Linked DNA regions of Homo sapiens: all the other regions are linked to region 1. The links are contacts of gene promoters, found by promoter capture Hi-C in human tissues and cell types (Jung and others, 2019). All regions are on one chromosome and are shown on one strand. The core of a region is centred on a gene start or on the middle of the fragment in contact, and the rest is flanking DNA. Distances in the headings are between cores, read along the strand shown.

Region 1 (3,260 bases), core at 214-2,713:
ATTCTTACTTTTTTTTTTTTTTGAGACGGAGTTTCGCTGTTGTTGCCCAGGCTGGAGTGCAATGGCACGATCTCGGCTCACCGCAACCTCCTCCTCCCGGGTTCAAGCAACTCTCCTGCCTCAGCCTCCCGAGTAGCTGGGATTACAGGCATGCGCCACCAAGCCCAGCTAATTTTGTATTTTTAATAGAGACAGGGTTTCTCCATGTTAGTCAGGCCGGTCTCGAACTCCCGAACTCAGGTGATCCGCCTGCCTTGGCCTCCCAAAGTGCTGGGATTACAGGCGTGAGCCACTGCGCCTGGCCCTTCTTTTGTGTGTGTGAAGGAGTCTTGCTCTGTCACGCACACTTAAGTACGATGGCGCGGTCTCAGCTCACTGCAACCTCCGCCTCCTGGGTTCAACCAATTCTCGTGCCTCAGCCTCCCAAGTAGCTGGGATTACAGGTGCCTGCCACCACACCTGGCTAATTTTTGTATTTTTAGTAGAGACGGGGTTCACGGTGTTGGCCAGGATGGTCTAGAACTCCTGACCACAAGATCCTCCCGCCTAGGTCTCTCAAAATGCTGGGATTACAGGCGTGAGCCACCGCGCCCGACCAGGAATGGGTTTTTAACCCCAACGTAGTTTTTGTTTTTGTGTCCTTCCCCTATTGGCTGGGGTCAGACCGCACAATCTAAGCTGATCCCGGTTGGCTTAGACCCAAACTTTTTCCAAATAGGATAAACGAGCGATTTGCGAGAAAAGGAAAAGGGAGAAAAAGGGGTAGGGTTGTTTTACAACTTTTACAACTTCTGATCAGGAAGTTGAGTCTTTGAAGAGGAATTTAGTTGTCCTAGCAACCCTTTACCTCAAGTGATCCGCCAGCCTTCGCCTCCCAAAATGCTGGGATTACAGACGTCAACCACCGCGCCCGGCCCCATAAATTTTTAACAAAAGAAAAGAGAAACTGTGAACCCCACGGACCAAAGCTCTTCCGAATCGTGAACCCGCACCCCGAGTCAAGATTCTCCCCTGATGACCTTCTCGTGGTTCCCGCACCATCTGGGAGAGACCCGAAGCTGCGGGTGGAGAGCTGCTGCACAGAGAGGGCGCCAGGCCAGGGCACGGTCACTGCGCAGGGAAGAGACAGGACGCCCCGGGACCGGCTGTCAGCGCAGCCACCATCTTATGGCTGAAGGGGACTGAGGCCGAGCTGGGTAAGGAGAAGTCCGGACGCAGATTGTGGAGCTGACTACGGGGAGGCCTGAGTCCCTCCACAGCCACTTCCCATCAACCAGTCCCTCCCCTCTCTCAGGATGTCCAATGGGCACTCTCACCATTTCTAGGCTTCTAAGGGGTCCCGGCATCTTGGCTGTGGATCTCCCAATACCTACAGGACACAGGGCCACAGAGGGTGGGCCTCTAGGAGCAGAGGACACAGAGTAGCGAAGAGGCGACCTAGAGCTCCAGATGCAGCGAGAGACAAAGGCCGCGCCAAACCCGGAAGCCGTCCTCTTTGCTCCAGCTGCCTGCCTGATTGGACGGTTTCCAGCCCAGCGTCTCTGATTGGATAATGCTTAAGGCCCCGCCCACTCAGTCCCTGAGTGACAGAGGATGTGATCAGATGCTGGGCTGAGTGATGAAAGAGTAACAGCCTAAGCTGCAGCCTTTTCAGGCAGGGCTTCCTCCCTGAGCTGAGCCAGGCCCACCCTAGAGCAAGGGAAAATTCTATCTCTTTTTTACTCTCTCTCTTTTTGCATGTATTCAAAAGGTGAACAGAAGTATTTTGCTGTCATATTAATAATACATAAAATTTTTGTTAGAAAATCAACTTTTACTTTGGTAATAGTGTATTATCAATACTAAAGCTAATTTTAATAAAACCTTATATATAAATCAGATTTGTCACTTTTGACCTCTCGAGATTTACACATATATTTCATAATCACTTGTAATTTTTTTAACTTTTTATATTTTATCTACATTCTTTTTTTCAATTTGAAACAACCTTTAAGTAATTTCAAATTGTTACAGGAAATAGAAATCATTTAGAACCAGGCGCAGTGGCTCACGCCTCTAATTCCAGCACTTTGGGAGGCCAAGGTGGGCGGATAACTTGAGTCAGGAGTTCAAGACCAGCCTGGCCAACATGGTGAAACCCCATTTCTACTAAAAATACAAAAAATTATCTGGGTGTGCTGGTGTGCACTTGTAGTCCCAGCTACTCCGGAGGCTGAGGCAAGAGAATCGCTTGAACCCAGGAGGCGGAGGTTGTGTAACAGCCCAAGGGTTTTACCTTGCCTTTTGTCTAGACAGAGCTGATTCATAAAGACAGGCCTTTTGCCTAGACAGAGCCCATTCATCAAGACAGGGGAATTTGTGGAGGAAAAGTTAAATATTAATTTTGAAATAAATTGAACACAGACACAAACAATGGTCACCAAGTCTCAGAACCGGTTGTGTGACCCCCTTGAGGCATTCATTGAGGCATTCATGTAGTGTCATTTCAGAGAAATCTCTGTTTCAATCTATTCCTATATGTTAGTTATTGAAAAACAAGATAACGTTTTTGTGTTCCTTGAGCCCAGTCGCAAAGGGCCCTAGTGACTGGGCCTCATGCCAAACATTTCAGCTCCATCAGGTCATTTATGTTCCTCTCCAAACTGTTTATTCTAGTTAGCAGTTCCTCTAACCTTTTATCAAGGTTCTTAGCTTCTTCAAATTGGGTTCGAACATGTTTCTTTAGCTCAGCAGAGTTTGTTATTAACCATCTTCTGAGGCCTACTTCTGTGAATTCATGCATCTCATCCTCTTATGTTCCTCTCCAAACTGGTTATTCTAGTTAGCAGTTCCTCTAACCTTTTATCAAGGTTCTTAGCTTCTTCAAATTGGGTTCAAACATGTTTCTTTAGCTCAGCAGAGTTTGTTATTAACCGTCTTCTGAAGCCTACTTCTGTGAATTCATGCATCTCATCCTCTTATGTTCCTCTCCAAACTGGTTATTCTAGTTAACAGTTCCTCTAACCTTTTATCGAGGTTCTTAGCTTCTTCAAATTGGGTTTGAACATGTTTCTTTAGCTCAGCAGAGTTTGTTATTAACCATCTTCTGAAGCCTACTTCTATCAATTCATGCATCTCATCTTCTGTCCAGTTCTGCACCTTGCTGAAGAGACATTTTGATCATTTGGAAGAGAAGAGGCACTCTGGCCTTTCAGCTGTTTTTTGTTGATTCTTTCTCATCTTCATGAGTTTGTCTAGTTTCGATCTTTGAGGCTTCTGAC
Region 2 (3,260 bases), core at 444-2,943, 220 kb after region 1:
AAAGGGAGGTCCATGGTTTTTGGACTTTAAGCTTGAGTTTGGTTAACTGAGCCTGAAGGATCCCATTTGCCCTTCTGACTTTTCTGGATGACTGGGGCCATTATGGGATACGGAAGCACCTCTGGACGCCAAGGGACTGAAAAACCTGTTGGATGATCTGGGAGATGAAGCTAGGGCCATTGTCTGATTGTATGGAGTGAGGGAGACCAAATATAGGGATGATTTCTGTTGTAAGGATTTGAGAGACTACTGCGGCCTTTTCTGAAGAGGTACGTAATGCCTCTACCCACCCAGAGAAGGTGTCTATAAGAGTAAGAAGAAATTTTGTCTTCTTGACGGGAGGCATGTGGGTGAAGTCTACCTGTCAGTCCTCCTCTGGGAGTGTTCCTCTGAGCTGATGTGTAGGAATAGGAGGAGAGCGGAGGGCCCCTTGGGAGGAAGTAACAGAGCATATATGACAGTTTGAGGTTATGTGTCTTAGTGAGATGAATAGGTGGGGGGAGGAGAAATAAGGGCAAAGGAGTAGGTACAGGAAGTGTGCACCGATATGGAAGGATTGGTGAAGAGATGTTAGAATTTATTTGGTTTGTTCTTGGGGGAGGATGAGCTTTTGACTTTTGATTATCCAGTCCCCTTGAAAGGAGGCTTCTTGCTGTAGTAGCAAAGCCTTCTTGGTGGGGGAGTACCTGGGTTGGATTGCTGGGGTAACAAGGAGGACAGGGGCAGGGGCTGATGAGAGGGAGGCTTCTTTTGCAGCCTCGTTGGCTTTTCTATTCCCTTTTTGATATTTTGTCTCATACTGTTTCACGTCCCTGACAGTATATAACCCCTGCCTAAGTTGGGAGGCATGCAGCCTGGAGGAGCTGGTAAATAAGGGGGCCGTTTTTAACGGGGGTTCCTTTGGCAGTAAGGAATCTCTTTTCTGCCAGATGGTGGTGCGAGAATGAAGAATGTGATCGGTATAATTAGAGTCTGTAAAAATGTTGACCCGTTTGCCTTTTGAGAGGGTTAGGGCCCTAGTGAGAGCTATGAGTTCTGCCTTTTGGGAGGAGGTTCCAGGGGGTAGGGGCTTAGCTTTAACTACTCTGTCAAGCATATCCAGCAATTTTATTGGAATTGACGGACTTGGAGGAGGAGCCATCTATAAATAACTGGTCATCAGGATCAAGAAGAGGTTCCGGGGAGATATTGGGAAAATGATGCAGCAGGTGATCAAGGATTTCAGTACAGGAGTGGATGGGAGAAGAGGAAGACACTGGAGGTAGAGATGCAGGACTGAGGGGAGCATTTTTGGAGAGGCAGAATTCAGGATTCTCAAGAAAAAGAGCATGGAGTAGTTGGATGTGGGAAGGAGAAAAGGTGCTCAGTACTTGGGAGGAGAGAAGATCTTGTAGATTATGTGGGCTATATATGGTGATGTCTTGGCTGAATGTTAGCTTTTTGCTTTCTAAAGCTAGCATGGTGGCTGCTGCTAGGACTCTGAGGCAGGCTGGCCATCCTCAGATGGTGTTGTTTAGTTGTTTAGAAAGGTAAGCTATAGGAGTGAAGGAAGGAGGACTTCCTTTTTGTTGACCGAGGACGCCAAGGGCTATTCCATGGTTTTCAGCTGTGTAGAGGGTGAAAGGCTGAGAGATGTTGGGCAAAGATAGAGCAGAAGCAGTTACAAGAGCTGCCTTTAGTTTGAGGAAGCTGGGGATTATGTTGTGTGAAGGATTTAGGGGCTCATTTGGAGGGCCTTTGGCTGCCTCATAAAGAGGGCAGGCTAGGAGGGCAAAATTAGGGATCTTGCTAGTTCTAAGAAAGAAAGGATTTCTCTTTTGGAGAAGGGTGGACGTAGACTGTCTATCTCCCGTGCTGGGGTCATGGCTTGGGCTCTGAGGGAGAGTTGGACTCCTAAGTTACTGTTGGGGTGGAGAGTTGTGCCTTAGAGGGGGAAACCCTATATTCTTTATCAGCAAGGAAGTTTAGAAGGGCAGTAGTGTGGGTTTGAGAGTCTTTTAGGGAGGGGCTGCAGAGGAGGAGGTCATCCACATACTGAAGGAGCCAGCAAGGGGAGAGGTTTAGCGATGTGAGGTCTTGGGCCAGAGCTTGCCCAAAGAAATGGGGACTATCTCTAAAGCCTTGAGGGAGGACTTTCCAAGTAAGTTGTTGAGACTGGAGGGTTTCAGGGTCAGTCCAGGTGAAAGTAAGAAGATCTCGGGAGTCAGGGTGAAAGGGAATAGCAAAAAAGGCATCTTTCAGATCAATGGCAGTGTAGTAGGTTGTGTTGGAAGGGATAAGGGAAAGGAGTGTATAAGGGTTGGGAACTATTGGGTGGATGGGAAGGACTGCCTGATTGATAGCCTAGAGGTCTTGGACTAGTTGATAGGAGCCATTTGCCTTCTTAACAGGAATTATGGGGGTATTATATGGAGAATGAGTTGGACTGAGAAGGCTGCGCAAAAGGAGTTTGTTTATGATGGGCTGTAAGCCTTTTTGATGAGCTACTGAGATGGGATATTGAGAGATGTTAGGGAATTTGGAGGCGTCTTTTAGCTGGATTTTGATAGGATCGTGGTGTGTAGCTAGGGAAGGGGTAGTAGTATCCCACACTATTGTATTAACCAGAGAAGAGGAGAGTGGATACTGGGGAGAGGGGCCCAGGGCTGGTTCAGTAGCAGAAAGGAGTAGGTGAGAGTCTGGTTGTGGGGAACAGAGGAAGGTAATGGAAGCCTTTAATTTGGTTAGGAGGTTTCTGCCTAGGATGGGGTTAGGGTAACAGGGCATGATAAGAAAAGGGTGTGAGAAAACGGTATGAAATAGGGAACAGGTAAGAGGCTTGGTGGTGCGTGGACTCGAGATGAGTCCATTAACCCCTACAACTGAGACCTGGGAGGGATGAGTTGGTCCTGAGAATTCAGGCATAGTTGAGTAGGTGGCCCCAGTATTGATTTAAAAAAGAGATCGGCTTACCTGCTGCTAGTAGAGTTACCCTGGGCTCTGATGCAGTGAAGGTAGATGGGGCCAGGGGCCCTGGGCCTCGTCAGTCTTCAGTGGCTAGACTAAGGAGCTGTGGGAATGCAAGTGATACTTCACCTTTTGTCTCTCCAAAAGGGTGGTGGTTTTGCAGTACAGGCTTTTCTGTCTGCCTGTTAACAGGACAGTCAGACTTCCAGTGGCCTGTCTGCTGGCAGACTGGGCAAGGGCTTTTTGGCATTCATGGATTAGGGCATGCTCATGCCCAGTGGCCTTCTTTGCTTCACTTTAAAAAAGGCCTGGGA
Region 3 (3,260 bases), core at 458-2,957, 170 kb after region 1:
GCTGAGAATGCCATTATTTTGTTCCATTTTATGGCTGAGTAGTATTCCATGGTATACCTGTACCACATTTTCTTTATCCACTCAATATTGATGGGCATTTTATCTAGTTCCATATTTTTGCAATTGCAAATAGTGCTGCTATAAACATGCATGTGCAAGTGTCTTTTTCATATAATGACTTCCTTTCCTCTGGGGAGATAGCCATTACTGAGATTGCTGGAACAAATGGTAGATAACCTTTAGTTCTTTAAGGAATCTCCATACTGTTTTCCATAGTGGTTGTAACTGCAGAAGCATATGCTCCTCAAGAACATGGATTCAGACTCCTCAATAGTTGATGAAATATTGGAGTGGGATGGGTTTGTGTGCCCATGGGTGCTCAAGCCTCCTTACATCGCTAATGCAGATGGACATAGAGCTTGAGGCAGCAAGGTCTCTTTTCCTGAGCTGGCTGATTTCAATACAATGAACCAAGGTCTCTGATCTTGAAGCTGGTCCCACAAGACACCCCACCTTCAGCCACCATCTGCTCTGTGCCTCCCATATCCTGTGGGGCCCATGGCAACCCCATGACAATGAGGGAGCACAGGGCACTGGAACTGTGGGCCTGGGGAAGACACAAACACTTTTCTATTTCTCCCAAACTTTCGAGTGTGTTGTCAGATACTTAATTTTGATTATGACTGAGATGTTATGTTCATGTATTTACAACTGTTTAAATGTAATATATTTTGCAAACTGTGGGATAATGTTTTTCACTTTTTTTTTTTTTTCCTCTTCATGTGTTCACAGATGGGTGGCCAACTCTGGAGCCCAGCCTGTTACTGCCCACTCTGGTGGTGAATCCTCCATAGTCTGGTATGGAGGTAAAGTTAAATATTAAATTTGAACTTAATTGAATCTGGACACAAACAATGGTCACCAAGTCCTGGAACAGGTTGTGTGAGCCCCTTGAGGCATTCATCCCGCGCTGTTTCAGAGAAATCTCTAATTCAATCTATTCCTATACATTCATTATTGAAAAACAATAGTCAAGCACAAAAACAAGTTGACCTTTTTGCGTTCCTTGAGCCCATTCGTAAAAGGCCCTCATGACTAAGCCTCATGCCAAAAAACTCATTACAAAAGAGCTAGGGTCCCAGATAGCGCCAAAGCTTCATGAGACCTCTCCTCATCTGTGCGCGGATGAGTGGCCGACTCTGGAGCCCAGGTTGTTTCTTCCCAGTCTGGTGGTGTAAATATATACAGTCTGGTGAGTGTAAACCTTTTCCATTCTCCTCTTCCCATTGCAATTTGCTTATTATGTCTGCAATCTGCTTATTATATTGATTTGCTTATTATATTATTTGTTTATTATATCTGCATTGCCATTTACGTGGTATAAAACTTCTTACCCTTAAAAGTATTGTGTGTGGGTCTTTTCTTCTCCCCTCGCGGGTTTCCTGCACAGAACATTTTTGGTGTCACAAACAGTATTTGGAAACAAAAGTATGCCGCTTTTTGGCCAGAAGGATGGGGCTGGAGGCTCAGGGACTTCCCATGTCTCAGGATGGGAACTCCCCCAGTTTTCCCCCTTGGCAACTGAATGGTCAAGGGGAACTGGCCTTTGTGAGAACTGAGAATCTAAATTAGTGCAATTTAAACCTTTGACTGTGCGGGAAGTGCTGCAGGAGATTCCAGTCAGCAAAGGAGATGCTGAGGGATCTCCCAGAGTGGATGGTGTTTGCTTACTGCTTATAAGTTAATGTGTCAAGATACGGGCTGGTTGCTATAAGAGAAATGTAAGTTGGAAAAGGAAAATGCCAGTGTGATTTCCAGACTGGCCCTGGCCCAATGCCAGGCCTATATCTTGACTGATCAGGCTCAAAGCTATCACCCTATTGCTGAAAAAAAGCAGCTGTCAGAATGACTCGGTCAGGTTAAAACTGAAGAACTACTTTGCTGGGGCTTGGAGCAGGTAAAAACCCAGCTCCTATCTCAAGGATGGGAAATTAAGCTTAGCAAAATTCAAGGACCTGCACAAACTGTAAAATACCTTGGCATCCTATGGAATGCAGAGATATAGTCCATCTTACAAAAGGTAAAGGGGCTAAAATACTAGAATTTGCAACCCCTACCACTAAAAAGGAGGCCCAGACATTTATTGACATCTCTGGATTCTGGAGACATCATATTCCTCACTTGAGTAATATTTTACAACCTCTGCATGCAGCCACTAGAAAACACTATGACTTTCATTGGGGAGAGACAGACAGCATGGCTTCTGAACAAGATAAACAAGCGGTGCAACTGGCCCTGGATCTATGGTCCATACAGGATGGGCCAGGAGAACTGCAAGTAACTGTCCTAGATCAACAGGCTAATTGGAGCCTTAGAAACAAGATGGGAAGAGGGTACCTTTCAGGTTTTGGACCCAGAAACTGCCAGAGGCCAGAAAAGCTTATACCCCTTTCGAGAAGCAATTGTTAGCTTGCTATTGGGCTTTGCTGGAAATGGAACACCTCTGCTTCAACCATGATGTCTTTATGAGGCCCGAAATTCCTATTATGACTTGGGACTTGAGTTCCCCCAAAACCCATCAGATAGGACATGTCCAAGAAAGTAGCATCATAAAATGGACATGGTACATACAAGACCAGGCTAAGTCAAAACCAAAGTGAGTATCACTTTTACATAAGGATGTACAAAATCTCCCAGCTCAGGAAACCACCGAGCAAGTCCTGCAGATAGGGAAGGAAACCTCCCCCACCCAATGGGGCAAATCCTTTAAAGAACTAAGCCCAGAGGATCAGAAACATGCTTGGTTTACTGATGCATCCACCAAATACATTGGTGGGAATCAATGCTGGAAGGCTGTGGCTTATAATCCTATTAAAAACAAAAGCATTTCTGATGAAGGAAGGGGTGGGAGCAGCCAGTTAGCTGAACTAGTAGCGGTTCCCCTGAGCTATTCAGAAGGAGACCAGAGGGATTTTTCACTTCTATACCAACTCTTGGTCAATACCAAATGGTCTTACTACCTGGATGCCCCAGGCAACAAAGCAAATGGTTAATTGGGAATAAAGAGGTTTGGGGAAAACAATACTGGGGAGATATCTCAATCCTAGCACACACTACCATTATCACTGGTTTTTTGTTTTGTTTTGTTTTGTTTTTTGTTTTTTTTTTTGAGATGGAGTCTAGCTCTGTCACCATTCTGGAGTGCAGTGGCACAATCTCGCTCACTGCAACCTCTGCCTCCGGGGTTCAAGCAATTCTCC

What was found. The method cuts DNA at HindIII sites, captures the fragments that hold promoters and counts their contacts. A contact is called where the count stands out against the background at its distance.
Region 2: a fragment that was not itself captured here is called in contact with the fragment with the promoter of ZNF486 in region 1 in 1 of the 25 tissues and cell types used here (H1 embryonic stem cells).
Region 3: a fragment that was not itself captured here is called in contact with the fragment with the promoter of ZNF486 in region 1 in 1 of the 25 tissues and cell types used here (mesendoderm cells).

Annotation. Positions count from the first base shown.
Region 1 is chr19:20,165,417-20,168,676 of GRCh38, reverse strand. It overlaps ZNF486 (zinc finger protein 486), which reads right to left and starts at 1,463. Exons shown (of 4, transcript NM_052852.4): 1 at 1,317-1,463. The coding sequence starts at 1,346. All of the region lies in intron 5 of LOC105372310 (a long non-coding RNA gene), which reads left to right. RefSeq lists an enhancer at 1-881. The HindIII fragment of the contact is 10,632 bases long and covers 1-3,260 here.
Region 2 is chr19:19,946,184-19,949,443 of GRCh38, reverse strand. It overlaps the pseudogene BNIP3P12. Among named protein-coding and RNA genes, the nearest start is that of ZNF93, 47 kb to the right of the region's middle. The HindIII fragment of the contact is 6,290 bases long and covers 1-3,260 here.
Region 3 is chr19:19,993,273-19,996,532 of GRCh38, reverse strand. It overlaps the pseudogene BNIP3P12 and a transcript of ZNF682 not described here. Among named protein-coding and RNA genes, the nearest start is that of ZNF682, 45 kb to the left of the region's middle. The HindIII fragment of the contact is 4,940 bases long and covers 1-3,260 here.